Linked DNA regions of Homo sapiens: region 2 is linked to region 1. Evidence: promoter capture Hi-C in human tissues and cell types (Jung and others, 2019). All regions are on one chromosome and are shown on one strand. Each heading gives the region's core, a stretch centred on a gene start or on the middle of the fragment in contact. The rest is flanking DNA. Distances are from core to core; before and after follow the strand shown.

What was found. The method cuts DNA at HindIII sites, captures the fragments that hold promoters and counts their contacts. A contact is called where the count stands out against the background at its distance.
Region 2: a contact is called between a fragment that was not itself captured here and the fragment with the promoter of PAX6 in region 1, in 1 of the 25 tissues and cell types used here (lymphoblastoid cells).

What each region holds. Positions count from the first base shown.
Region 1 is chr11:31,810,072-31,816,229 of GRCh38, reverse strand. PAX6 (paired box 6) reads left to right here and starts at 4,908. Exons shown (of 14, transcript NM_001368894.2): 1 at 4,908-5,115; 2 at 5,215-5,402. RefSeq lists enhancers at 1-635, 2,697-3,665, 5,013-5,070, 4,773-5,342, a silencer at 1,599-1,853 and a promoter at 4,716-5,125. The HindIII fragment of the contact is 12,830 bases long and covers 31-6,158 here.
Region 2 is chr11:31,430,272-31,437,875 of GRCh38, reverse strand. DNAJC24 (DnaJ heat shock protein family (Hsp40) member C24) reads right to left here. Exons shown (of 5, transcript NM_181706.5): 5 at 5,041-7,604. The coding sequence ends at 7,475. IMMP1L (inner mitochondrial membrane peptidase subunit 1) reads left to right here. Exons shown (of 6, transcript NM_001304274.2): 5 at 4,306-4,416; 6 at 5,308-5,475. The coding sequence ends at 5,376. Among named protein-coding and RNA genes, the nearest start is that of DNAJC24, 64 kb to the right of the region's middle. The HindIII fragment of the contact is 5,117 bases long and covers 1,526-6,642 here.

The DNA.
Region 1 (6,158 bases), core at 3,659-6,158:
AAGGAAAACCGAAGGGAACCCAACGCCCCTCCGGGGCAGAAGGGGGCAGCGCGCGCGAGGCGGAAGGACAGTCACTCTCGCTGCACAAACTTTCCCGCGGGCCGCGCCGCGCGTGCAGGGGCTGGACGCCACCCGGCGCCAGAGCCGGGCCTGAGGAGCGGGGTCTGGCCGGGAACGAGGGCTGCCAGCCTGGGTGGTGTCATTTGTTGCTTCATTTTTCATTCCCTTTCCTCTCGTGAGGAATCAGAGGCATCGGGCCGCGCGGGCTGAGAATTCTTAAATTCTCCCCGGCCGCATTCGGCTGAGCCAACCCGCAGTTCCTGTCAGCCCCTCTGTCCCCCGGGCAGCGGTTTTCCCCGCTAGCCAGGTTTGGAAGTCACCCTCTGTGAGACTGGGTTAGGAAGTGACGAAAAGCGCCGAATTGTTTTCAAATTGAAAATACTTTTTTTTTTTTTTTTGGAGATAGCGCTGACAAATATATGGGATCCCGGCTTTTGATCCCTGGCTGCCGCCTCTGTTCTCCTGTCGCTAATAAAACTCGCATTGAGCCCCTTAGTGCCTTGATTAACAGGCAGATTAACTCTTACTGGGGTTGGGAACAGCTTGTCCTAATCAATGTCATTTTAAAAGCCCGTCAGGATGCGCTTAGCTTCGGTTCCCTGGATGCTTGAGCGAGCCAGCCATGACATTTGCTCCCTCCCCCTCCCCAGCCTCAAATCCCCCAGTAAAGCCCCCAGTTCCCGCCTGCCTGTTCCCAGGTCTACAACGGGACAAATCGCAGGACCGGGTCGTTGGCCTTTAGAATAGGCAGCGGTTTAGAGAGGGGATATCCAGGGAGAAGGGACTGAGGTGGCCTTGACTTGCTTGCTTTTCCTTTGAAGCTGAACTCTTGCCTCTTGGGGGCAGAGGTTACAGGGAAAAGAGAGATGGGGGGATCGTCACAGGGTGATGAAATGGAAAGCAAACTTTTCTAGGAACCCTATTTGCAAAAATCGGAGAGTGCCGCTGATTTCAGTTGTCCTACATGTCAGGAGTTTTAAACCTAACTCCTATCTGGACAACAGCATGGAGGGACTGGGAGGCAAAGCCTTGGGAGTCTGACCCGCTGGGCTGCTAGGAATCCCTTTGCTGGGAGACTCCACTGGACAATGTTATTTTAAAGGTATTTTGGGGGTGGGCAGGGAGAAGACAGAGAGAGAAAGAGAGAGAGAGAGAGAGAGAGAGAGAGAGAGAGAGAGACAGGCTGGCCTCCCAGAGCGAACGGAAGAGGACTGAGGACTGAACCCAGGGAGCCCCTAGCACTGGCCATTTGGCAGGAGGCGAGGAAGGGCGAGGGCACCGCGGCTTCCCCCCAAGCCGAGCAGTGGCCACAGCCTGAAGGTGCCACGGGGCGGCTCTGGGATCTTCTTGGCTTTTCTAGGCTCTGGGCTCGGCGAGGCTGCCGGGTTAGCGGGAACCGGCAGGTTGCTGGAGAAAGGAGAGGGACAAAGGCCTGGAAGTGGGGGAGGCACCAGGGACTGGGCGGCCGGGATGGGAGCCTTTGCCTTTAGGGCTCACTGGACCCGTTTGCCAGCTCCGCGGACAAGGGATCCCACCTTCCCAGGGTCTGCAAAAAGAGAGACGTTTGGGGCACTACAAAGTGACGCAGGTGTCTGCCAAGACTTTCCTTCTCCAAAAAATGCCAGTCTTCACCCTTTCCAGCGCGCCGGCGCTGCGCCTCTGCTTGACCGGGGAAAGAGAGAGTTTGGAGGTGTCAGAACTGTCAGAACTCCGGATGGGAGGCTCTTGGTTCTGAAGCTGGGAGCTGGAGGCACTTCCCCCCAGAAGTGGGCACTTCTTTGCCTCCCCGAAGGCCTGATGGGGTGGGCACAGGGGAATGCCAGGGATCGGTGCGGGTGAGATGCTTGCCTCACCTCATGTTGACGCATCAATACTGGCTAGAAGCTCTGGGCAGGCTCTGGCGAGCCACGGTCCCCCAGCGGGACTCCCTCCACGCAGACAGCCCCGCTACCGGGTGGGACGACCCCGGCGGCCCCCGCGGGAACGCACCCGCCGGCCTGAGAGGTCCTCCCTCTGGCCACAGGGGGCGGAGGGTAGGGGGGAACAGGGGCCTGTGGGGAGGCGGGGAAAGGAGACAGAACCTAAAGCGCAATCCCCGCCGCCCCCCCGCGTCTTGGAGGGCAGCAAGTGGGCCTCGGGCGTGTTGGTAGCCGCAATTAAAATGGCGACCTGCGAGTTGTCTCGGTTTTGTACACACCTCTGGCAACCGCGCCCGCACCTCAGTCTCGGCCCCCACACCCCTAGGCCGCTTCGCCCCCAGAGCCGGTACTTGGCAGAGGGAGTGAGGCTCCCCACGAGGTAGAACAGCACCCCCACCTTCCTTGAGACCAGTCCAGAGAGAACGAGGAAATCTCACTCTCACCCCTCTCTCCTTAAACTTTGAAAACTCGGCCTCATTCTGGGGTTGAACTCCCCTCCCCAAATATTGACACATGGGAAGCAGCCAAGTCCTTTTTGTTTTTTGTTTGTGCGGAGGAGTTTCCAGGAGTCTTTCCCGGAGCCCCCTTCCCCACCCAATGACGTCAGTGGCATTCACTCCTCGCTCCTTGCCTTTTCTGATTTTTTGTTAAAACTTTTCTCCGCAGCGAGATGGGGGTTGGAGGGGTGGGAGAAGGAGCTGATTCAAAGAGCCAGTGCCCTGGGGGGAAATAGCAACAAGATTACGGCTGCTTCTTTCCGAGGCAAAGCTTAAGAAGGTGCTAATCCACTCGGTCGCTAATTGAGAGGTTGTAAAAATGATACTCGCCTCCAGTTCGGACAGAATCACTTCCCCCCCCCCCGCCCCCCCGCAAGTCCCTCGCTCATGCACAGCGGACTTGAGTCTTGAGTCCAAGCTTCTTTAATGCTCGCTTGGAAAGTAAAAGGAGAGAGAAAGAGAAAGCCGACTTTCGCTGGTCTGGGACTCAGGGCCGCGGCCCCACTTGCCGGCATCCTCCGAAAGTCGCGCTCCTGCGAAATGAAACCTCGCCCAGGAGGCCGCGGACCTGGACACCCGGCGCCACCTCCTTCACCTCTGACCCAGGTTTCCTCCCGGCGCTGCGAGCTCCCGGGGAAGGGTTAGAGCCGGCAGCCCTCCCCAGCCCGGGGAGGGGAGAGGGTTATGCGACCCCACCTCTGGCTAGGGCCGGGGAGGCCTTTGCTTCCCGGGAGCCCTGCCCGGGCTCCTTGGTCGCAGGGCTGCTGGGTCCCAGGCAGGAACGAGAGGGTGAGGCCCACATGTGGCCCGGCGGCCCAGGGCGGCTTGCAGCGTCCTCACTGTCCCGGCTGCCAGGGGCTGCGGCGACGCGGCCAGTCAGCAGCGAGTTCAGGTCGCGCAGATTTTATTGATGAGCTCTGACTTTCAGCACTTTCCCTAAGTCAAGAAGAGTCTAGCGTACCCTTCGGCTGCTTCATTTCAGCCTCCCTGCCTCAGCTCTTCAGCCCTATTCCCCCTCGCCCTGTCCTGGGGTGTGTACAGCAGCCCAGGCCTTCCTTCTCCTTCCCGGCTCCGTGGCCCGAAGCCGCCGAGAGAGCTCGGGACAGCGCAGGACCAGGCAGCCGCTCGCTCTCCTGTCACCTTAACTGCAGGCTCCGAGGGGCGCCTTTGGAGTGTACTGAGGTGTGTCCTAATCGTGCGGCATTCAACAAATGGACTTCTGGTGTGTGGTCAGAAGAGAAAAGCCATTTACTTACTTTCCTCCCCGGTTTTCTGGCAACAGCTGAAGGGGAGCTGCCTCCGTGGACTGAGCAGACCCAGGAGAGGGAGTCGTGGTGCGGAGACACACGCACCACACACAGATGACCGGTGGCACACACGACACACGCTGACATACCGACATCGCCAGTGGGACACACACACACACACACACACACACACACACACACACAGAGAGAGAGAGAGAATCCCTCCCAGCATTGGTCATCCGCCCCCCCACCCAGGCTTCCACTCCCCCTCCCCTCTTATCTCCCCTGGCTTCCCCTCCTCTCGGGCGCTGCGAAAAGCAGCCGCACTTAGTCAACAAATGGCACGTGGGAGAAGTTGGTGAGTGTTTGGTGAGGACTCTTCAGGGCTTTTCACAAGAACCCTCTGTACACAAAGTAAGTGGCGTGTTTACTCGGGCCTCTCCAGCCAGAGCTGTGCCTCTGCTCCGCTGCGCACCGCGGCTTCCGAAAGGAGAAAGGAGAGAAGAAAGGGCGGGGAGAGCGGGGTGGAGGATTTGGACAGGCCCTGGAGGCTTGGGCTGGGGAGGCCTCTGGCCTCGTTTAGTTCTCGGCCCGGCAACCTCCTCTCGGCCTAGGCTTCGCCGCGGCCTCCGCAGCTGGAATGGAGCTGCCAGGACCCAGTGACGCTCCCGCCCCTTTCCTCTTCTTCCAAGGGGCCAGGTGGGCTGGGGTGCGGCCGCCGCTGTGCTCTGTGTCTTGGGGCCCCGGCTGGGATGGGGTGGGGGCGGGCGGGGGCGGGGCGGCAGGCCACGCTGTCCTGGAGTTGGCAAGAAAGGACAGCACAGAAACTTGCACCCTCCGAGGACTGGGAGTCCCGAGTCCAGCTTAGGGGGAGTGGGGGCGCGACCCCCAACCCAGAAACCTTCACTTGACCGCTCAAGTTCGCGGCAGCAGGGCGGGCCGCGCCGAATCTCGGCGTGCGCGGAGCGGGGAGATGCAGGCGAGCGCCAGAGCCCGGGCTCGGGGGCCCTGCGCCGGGGAGAGGAGCCGGGACCCACCGGCGGAGCCGAAAACAAGTGTATTCATATTCAAACAAACGGACCAATTGCACCAGGCGGGGAGAGGGAGCATCCAATCGGCTGGCGCGAGGCCCCGGCGCTGCTTTGCATAAAGCAATATTTTGTGTGAGAGCGAGCGGTGCATTTGCATGTTGCGGAGTGATTAGTGGGTTTGAAAAGGGAACCGTGGCTCGGCCTCATTTCCCGCTCTGGTTCAGGCGCAGGAGGAAGTGTTTTGCTGGAGGATGATGACAGAGGTCAGGCTTCGCTAATGGGCCAGTGAGGAGCGGTGGAGGCGAGGCCGGGCGCCGGCACACACACATTAACACACTTGAGCCATCACCAATCAGCATAGGTGTGCTGGCTGCAGCCACTTCCCTCACCCACACTCTTTATCTCTCACTCTCCAGCCGCTGACAGCCCATTTTATTGTCAATCTCTGTCTCCTTCCCAGGAATCTGAGAATTGCTCTCACACACCAACCCAGCAACATCCGTGGAGAAAACTCTCACCAGCAACTCCTTTAAAACACCGTCATTTCAAACCATTGTGGTCTTCAAGCAACAACAGCAGCACAAAAAACCCCAACCAAACAAAACTCTTGACAGAAGCTGTGACAACCAGAAAGGATGCCTCATAAAGGTGAGTCCGCTTCTTTCTTCTCGCTTTATTTTTATTGCAATATTCAGACAGGTCTCCCCCTTCCTCCCCCCTTCCTTCCTCCCCTCTCGCCGGTCCCCTCCCCCACTGCTACGCCGGGAGAGTTGGGCCGGAGAAGTTTCCACGCAGGAGCCCAAACTTTCTACTTCCAGCGAAAGCCCGCGTCGGAGGGCGACTGCCGGCGAGCGGGAGCGGCGCAGGGCTCGGGGCGGGCGGCCAGCTCAGCCCCAGCGCCAGCGCCAGCGCCAGCGCGGGCTGAGCTCGCGGGAAGAAGGGAGACTCCAGGCGCGACAGCAGCCGCGGCTCCTAGCCCCAGCGTCGCCCAATGCTCCCGACCCGCGGGAAAAGACGAAGAGGCTCTGTGGTGCCCAAGGCCCTGGAACGGCCGCAGAGAGCAACCGCTGCCGGCTGCTTTGTCCAGCCCGAGGCCCAGCGAACGCGCAGAGAGCGGGCGCTCCGAGGACTCGCCGAGGGAGCGCCGAGGGAACCTGCTCGCCGCGTCTCCGCCCGCCCGCCGGCCCTCGGGCTTTGTGCCGCACTGGGCTCCGGCGCAGAAGAGTCAGCCGGCACTCGAGCGCCGAGGGGGGCACCGCGCCCGCCACCAGCCCGAGTGGAGTCAGTCGGCAAGGCAGCCGCACGCTGGAGGTAGAGGGAAGAGCGAGCTAGCGCGAGCCGGGAAGGAAGCCACCAGGCCAAGGCGGTGGAACGCGCGCTCCGAGGGAGCTCAGAGCCGAGCGG
Region 2 (7,604 bases), core at 2,835-5,334, 380 kb after region 1:
AAGAAGGCAGACACAAAATAGGTACTTTGTAATTCCATTTATATGAAATTAAGCAACAGGCACAACTACTATCTAGTAACAGAAAGCAGTTCACTCGTTGACTGGGTCTAGGCATGGCGATAGGAACTGACTGCAAAGGAACAGAGGGAACTTTTCGGCATGGAAGAAACATCCTGTATCATTGTGGTTGTGGTTAGATGGGTATGTACATTTTTCAAAACGTGTGTCAAAACTTAAAACAGGTGCATTTTACTGTATATAAAATATACCTCTATAAAATTGATTTTTAAAGTGAAATAAAGTTCTCACTCTTTTCCCCCATACCAAAAATAATTATATATTTAAAAGGAGGAGTAATTGCAAACATTATGTTTTTTTACTGGTAAACTGAGTATGGGTTGAGCATCCCTAATCTGAATATGCGAAATCCAATATGCTCCCAAATCTGAAGCTTTTTGAGTGCCTGTGTGATGCCACAAGTGGAAAATTCCACATATGACTTCACATGACGAGTCATAGTCAAAACACAGTCAAAACTTTGTTCCTTGGACAAATTATAAATACTGTATAAAATTACCTTCAGGCTATATATATATGAGGTGTATATGAAACATAAATGAATTTCATGTTTAGACTTGGGTCTCTTCCCCTGGATATCTCGTGTATATGCAAATATTCCAAAATCTAAATATATGAAACCTGAAACACTTCTGGTCTCTAGCATTTCAGATAAGAGATACTCAACCTGCAACTTATAGAGGTGGATCAGCAAAGATGCCTGCTTTAATTTTAAAAGATCTGTACGTAGAGGTTTTCTTGTTTTATAGAGATCTTGTTAGATTAAAGGTAACATCAGTGATGAAGCTGTTTCCTTGATTTGTGTACTTTACATGAAGTGTTGTCTGAGATGTAGGCAATCCCTTTACTGTAAATGGATGCATGGTCATTAACATGTATGGATTTCAGGTAATGAGGAGTTAGCATGTCTCATATTTGAACCTATTTCTTTTTCCTTGACTAAATGTCAAATTTAGTACTTCACAGGTTATTTTAAGTATCAAATGAAAGGCTCCTGGTCATATGTTCTAGATGTTTTTTTTAGAAGATTCCTTTCTGTAGTTGTTAATTATATTACTCCAGCGATGGTTGGGCGCACTGGCTCACCCCTGTAATCCCACCACTCTGGGAGGCTGAGGCGGGTGGATTGCTTGAGGTCAGGAGTTCAAGACCAGCCTGGCCAACATGGTGAAACCCTGTCTCTACTGAAATAGAAAAATTAGCTGGGTGTGGTGGTGGACACCTATAATCCCAGCTACTTGGGAGGCTGAGGCAGGAGAATTGCTTAAACCCAGGAGGTGGAGGTTGCAGTGAGCCGAGATCACACCACTGCACTCCAGCCTGGGCAACAGAGCAAGACTCCGTCTCAAAAAACAAAAATTACTCCAGAGATGATGTCGCTAATTTGAAAGAAACTCAGGTCATAACTGCTACAAAAGTGACCTAGCTAATGGCAGTTATCATTGTGCTTTCAAAGAATTTCTATTTACAAGTATTTAACCACCAGCAAATATCTGAGTTCCACTTTTGGTTTAGGTACTGTAAATAATTAAAATCATCTTTTAAAAAGCATATGGATATAAAAGTAAATACTGCATAAAAAACTAAAAACTTTGTGGAACATAATATAAAAAGACAAAAAATAGATTGGGAAAAATGTTTGCAATAAATGTATTAATCTTTGTATTATATAAGAAATACACATAGATAGGAAAATTGAGATCCCAAAGACTAATATATGCAAAAGTAGGCACAGACTATTCACTGGATATTAAATTCAATCAGAAAACACACAGAATAATATTTGACACTGCCAACAATCAAATAAATGCACAGAAAAATATTACCAAGGTATTAAATTAGTTATTATTTACAAAAATTAAAAACGTTCATCCAAGCCTTATAACCATTTGTCAGGATGTACTCCCAAAGAATAAAACAGTTAAATGTAAAAGAAGAAACCATGAGACCTTTCTAAGAAAGACTCAAAATTCAGAAGACATGAAAGCAAAGGCTCATAACAGAAATGAGAAACTGGGAATATTTGCTATTTGTACCACAAAGGGCTAATCTCCCTAGTATTGAAAGAGTGCTTATGAAATGAGGGAAAAAAAGGAGATCAATCCAGTAGCCAAATGGCAAAAGACATGCAAAAAGATATCACAGAGAAGGAATTAAATGCCTCTTAAACACGAAAAGAAGATTCAGCTTCACTCATAAGACAAAGGTATCATTTTTTGCCATATATATTGGCAAAAATCTATTAGATTGGTGCAAAAGTAATTGTGGTTTTTGCCATTAAATGTATTTTGCGGCAAAAACCGCAGTTATTTTTGCACCAAACTAAAATGCAATAAAAGTCAAATCATGGCATTACTGCCTGTTGGTTTATTCTGGTATAAAATAGTAAAAACTGACAGAAAAGCCAAGCAGGTTAAAAATAATATTAAAGGTTATAATGTAGGGCCCCAAGCAAGGCTGACTTTGTGTGTTAAGTATTGGAAACAATCAGGTTGGTAAGGGCAGGCAAGTTTAGGGAAAGCTTCATGAAGAGATGGAATGTAGAAACCACTGATCCTGGTTCAATGGGATGGTCAGACAAAGATATCCCTAGATTGTTGATAGTTGCCTTATTAGTTTGCATAATGTTTTAATTTTACTTTTACTGGTGTCCATAACTACATGGTTTTATTTATTCATATATATTACCTGTTTTTAGAACTCAGGAAAAAACACATTTTAGGAAGAAACTATGGAAATTTAGACACGAAAGATGTTCACCTTATAGCTTTATCAAATAACACTTCAGAATGTTAATTACATATGGCTTTTCCAAATTCATTATTTTGTTCCTTTTTTGATGACTGTGATGTACACACTTTCCTACTAGAGCAGTCTTACACTTCACTGCACATATGTCTATTTTATTAGATAGCAAGGAAGTGGCCTTGCTATTGGCCCTTGGACAAACTAGTTCCAGTAATAAAAGTGAATGATCATACAGTTTCTGATATTCTTTCAGTAAACTTATGTCCTTTTTCTACAAATAGATTTAATGTTTAAATGTATCTAAACGCAGAGTTAATTTGGAGATTTTTGGCAAATATTTGTACATAAGACTTTCCAGAATCTTAAAATCGCTTACGTAAGTGAAATTCAAATTTTACATTCTTGTATACATTTACTTTTCAAGAAAGTAATTTGTGATTAAAAAAAAAAGTTGCATTATCTCTTATTAAACCCAGTAGTGTATTTTTCTTCATAAAAGGTTTACAAGTAAAACCAGTCAAAAGAATAGTGAAAATAAATTCCTTCCCCATACATAGATCATTTTGGTCTGGTCAATAATTCAACTGTCTTAGATAACAAAACTGTAAAATAAAAACTTTTAAAAAGCAATTTTAAAGATTGTTGCTGGAAAGTAAGTTTTTTAGTTTACATTGAACAGAAATAGGCAAATGTCTCATATTGCAGGTGGCTTAAAAAAAACAATGTATTCTGTTCTAAATATGCTTATGATTGTCACTGAGTAAAAATCTTGTTATTTACCAGTTTATACATAGAACATTATAGGAGATAGTCTTTTCATTTAGGAGAAGGTCACCATCATTAATTTTACAACTGATGATTTTATAATAGGTCCTTCTGGTTCTTCATGGTCATTATTGAAGTATAATGCATTGAAGATATGGCCTGTACAAAGGCAGAACAGGGATGTTAATTAGAATTCTGACAAGCCTACTCCAATAAAATGATGAGATTATTTGTAATTGATGTCACAATCAATTACCATTTAGTTCATCATGAGCATTCTAATAGGTTTGGCTTTGGTATTGGCCCCAGGATGTTGCTGAGTGAGTGGCTGCCCTGCTTATACTGTTATTGAGACACAAGGGCGCATTTTCAGTCAGCATCCTAATGACCTCTTTTGAAGTCTATTAAATTAATGACCCTGTCACACTATTTTGATCTCTTATAACCTCAGTTTGGGGTTTGTATAACAAATTAATATTTGGGAACCATATGACAAAAAAAGATGATAGGTTTTTAAAAAAGTTGAAACCTTTGATATTTAGTAAAAGTTATTGTGCAAGAAATAAAAGCAAAAATGCAATATTAGGATTTGTATCTATTCTATAAAAGAGAGCCTTAGGACATTTCTCCCTACCTCTGAATGACATGCTTTTTAATTATAGTACCCAAATTAGGTTTTATCTTTAAGAGGCTGCATTTCTTCTCTAATTCTAGGTGCCAATGGGTCATGTTTGGTTAGAAGGTGACAATCTACAGAATTCTACAGATTCCAGGTGCTATGGACCTATTCCATATGGACTAATAAGAGGACGAATCTTCTTTAAGGTACCATTTTCTGCTTAAAATGTAAGGTTTATTTTCTGAGCTAGAAAAAGTTTCTCTCAAAATGATCTCTGAAATCTTCAAGCTGTCAGTGTACTTAACTGTTGCACCGAATATATTTTTTGAACCTGTTGGCCTTAACTTAATAGCCATATGCAAACCTATTCCCCCATTGCCCCTGCTCCCATAGAGATAATAATAAAATCCAAACTACCTTAGCTATAGCCTAAGAAAACTTTAATTTGAATTTCCAAAAGTTCAGTTCTCTCTTGTACAACTCTTAAAACCATGTTCACATCCTGCCCAGGGCATATTTTAATAAGCATGTGCAGAAGAACAGTCTAGATTCAAACTACCTGTAAAGTAGGGATACCCCAGTTGAGTACTGTGAGTCACAGACTTATTGTGAATGTATGATTATTAGGGAAGATTGTTTTCACTGGCCCCTCCTTTTTATCACAATCAGTGAGGAGAAAAACATTCATGAATACATGGAGCTGTTGGATAATTTACAGGATTCTTTACATTTAAAACAGATGCCATATTCAAGTACTTAAACCTAAGCCCCTTTGGTTGAAAGTACACAGTTAACTCTTACTTGCAAGTAGTAAAAGAAAACACAGACCATATATTCATACATATTTATTCACACACCACACACATATAATTTCATGTACATTGTTTGAATGTCCCAAACTTTGGAGTTTAAACATATATACACATAAGTTTATTTTCTCAAGTCTTACTTTGATGTAGAAAATTTTATTCTTGATTGATGAGTAAGGAGAAAGTGTTTATCTGGCATAGAGAAAAGGGACAGATAGCAAAAGGGAATATGATGATACTATAACATTACTTTCACTAATTGTCTTCAACCTCATTTTGATTTTACAGATTTGGCCTCTGAGTGATTTTGGATTTTTACGTGCCAGCCCTAATGGCCACAGATTTTCTGATGATTAGTAAGCATTTATTCTTTTGACTTGATTATTGTCTCCTTTTCATGTGAATTTATTACTCCCGTTGAAACCGTGTACTTACCAATAAACTATTTGCTATTCAGTTTTAGTTGTTTTTAATTGTTAAATGTAAAGAATATTCAACACACATTCTGCCAAGTTCTGTTAGTTCAAAATATATGGATAAAAATGTAACCCAAAAAAGTCATCTAAATTTTATGATACAAAAATATTGTGGGAGGGGGAACCTGGATGACTACCTCACTTTTGAATTCTTGTTCTTATAGGTATAATGAAACTAATCTATTCTTCTTAAATATACCTCATACTTTAGCAGCTACATTTACAAGTCAGAGTAGTAACTATTCGTATTTATAAGTTCAACCTGACAATGCCAGGTTTGATAAAAAGCTGCTAGTCTACATGCTCAGCCCACTCATTTGAAATTAAGTAAAAATGTTTCTAAAGGATCCCTTAAAGTTCTTTAAATGAGTTCTGACTTTTACTGTACACAAAATATTAAATACATAGAAAAATGCATCTTTAAGGCATATGCCATCTGTAGTTGGCTATAGTCAATAATACTTTATAAAAGTTCATTTCAGCATAGCAGCAGTGCAATGGCCCTGTCTTCATAAATACAGGCATTAATACTATATCTTTTTTTATTTATTTTATTTTATTTTTTTTGAGACAGAGTCTTGCTCTCTGTAGCCCAGGCTGCAGTGCAGTGGCACAACCTCGGCTCACTCTGCCTCCTGGGTTCAAGTGATTCTTGTGCCTCAGCCTCCCGAGTAGCTGGGACCACAGGCAGACACCAACGTGACTGGCTAATTTTTAAAAAAATTATTTTTAGTAGATATGGGGTTTCACCATGTTGGCCAGGGTGGTCTTGAACTCCTGACCAAAGGTGATCCGCCTGCCTTAGTCTCCCAAAGTGCTGGGATTACAGATGTGAGCCACCATGCCTGGCCCCAATATTATATCAACACTCCAAAATAAAAGGGGAAATAATGCACCAACTTCCAAGTCATTATTTTTAAAAAAGCTTCTGGCCAGGCATGGTGGCTCACGCCTGCAATCCCAGCACTTTGGGAGGTTGAGGTGGGCGGATCATTTGAGGCCAGGAGTTCAAGACCAGCCTAGCCAACATGATGAAATCCCATCTCTATTAACAAAACTTAGGCCAGGCACGGTGGCTCAAACCTGTAATCCTAGCACTTTGGGAGGTCGAGGCAGGTGGATCACCTGAGGTCAGGAGTTTGAGACCAGCCTGGCCAACATGGTGGAACCCCATCTCTACTAAAAATACAAAAATTAGCTGGGCATGGTGGTGGGCACGTGTAATCCCAGCTATTCGGGAGGCTGAGGCTGGAGAATCACTTGAACCCAGGAGACGGAGGTTACAGCGACCTGAGATCATGGCACTGCACTCCAGCTGGCGCGACAGAGTGAGACTCTGTCTTAGAAAAAAGAAATTAAAATTAAAAGCTTCCATTTCCTAAATTACATTTAAATTTGAAGATGGCAGTGTTTACAAGCTTTGGAAATACGGACCAAGATTGGAGGCAACACTTTCTACAGTTGCCACTTTGTCTTTATTAACTTTGAAATAACCTTATGAATATCCATAACCAGCCTTCCTTATGGAAGAACTGGCCTCACATTATTCACAAAGATTCTAGGTGTACAACAGCCCCATAACTTTAGCAACTAGAAACGTTATCGGTTAGACCAGAAACTTAGTAACTATAAAGGAATATGATGATACTGTTACCCACTGAAAAGAGGAGACATGCTCATATTAAGAAAATTCTTATTTTGTGTCATGGAAAAAAATGACATAATAAAGTTCTCAGATGGGAATTCACCAAATATAATCAAATCTATTTTTGTGACAACTTGTAAATATAAATTATAAATACAAATAAATAATTATATTCATTCTCTATTAATCTGAGGTGGTCTCTGCTTGATAATTGTATATTTTCTTTGCAAATAATCGGGCTGACAAATAATCCATTTCCTTGAATGGACAAAGCTCAACGGCTTCTCATCATGTCTCAATACCACAGTTAAAGCATTTCAAGTTGTGAACAATTTTAGTTATAATGAAGGAGTTCTATAATTAGTGAACATGTATCACAAGAAATCAGGCTAACTTCTTCCGCTTCATCCTTGGAAACACTGTATTTTCCACCACATCTGCAACTCAGATAAAAAGAGTGATCA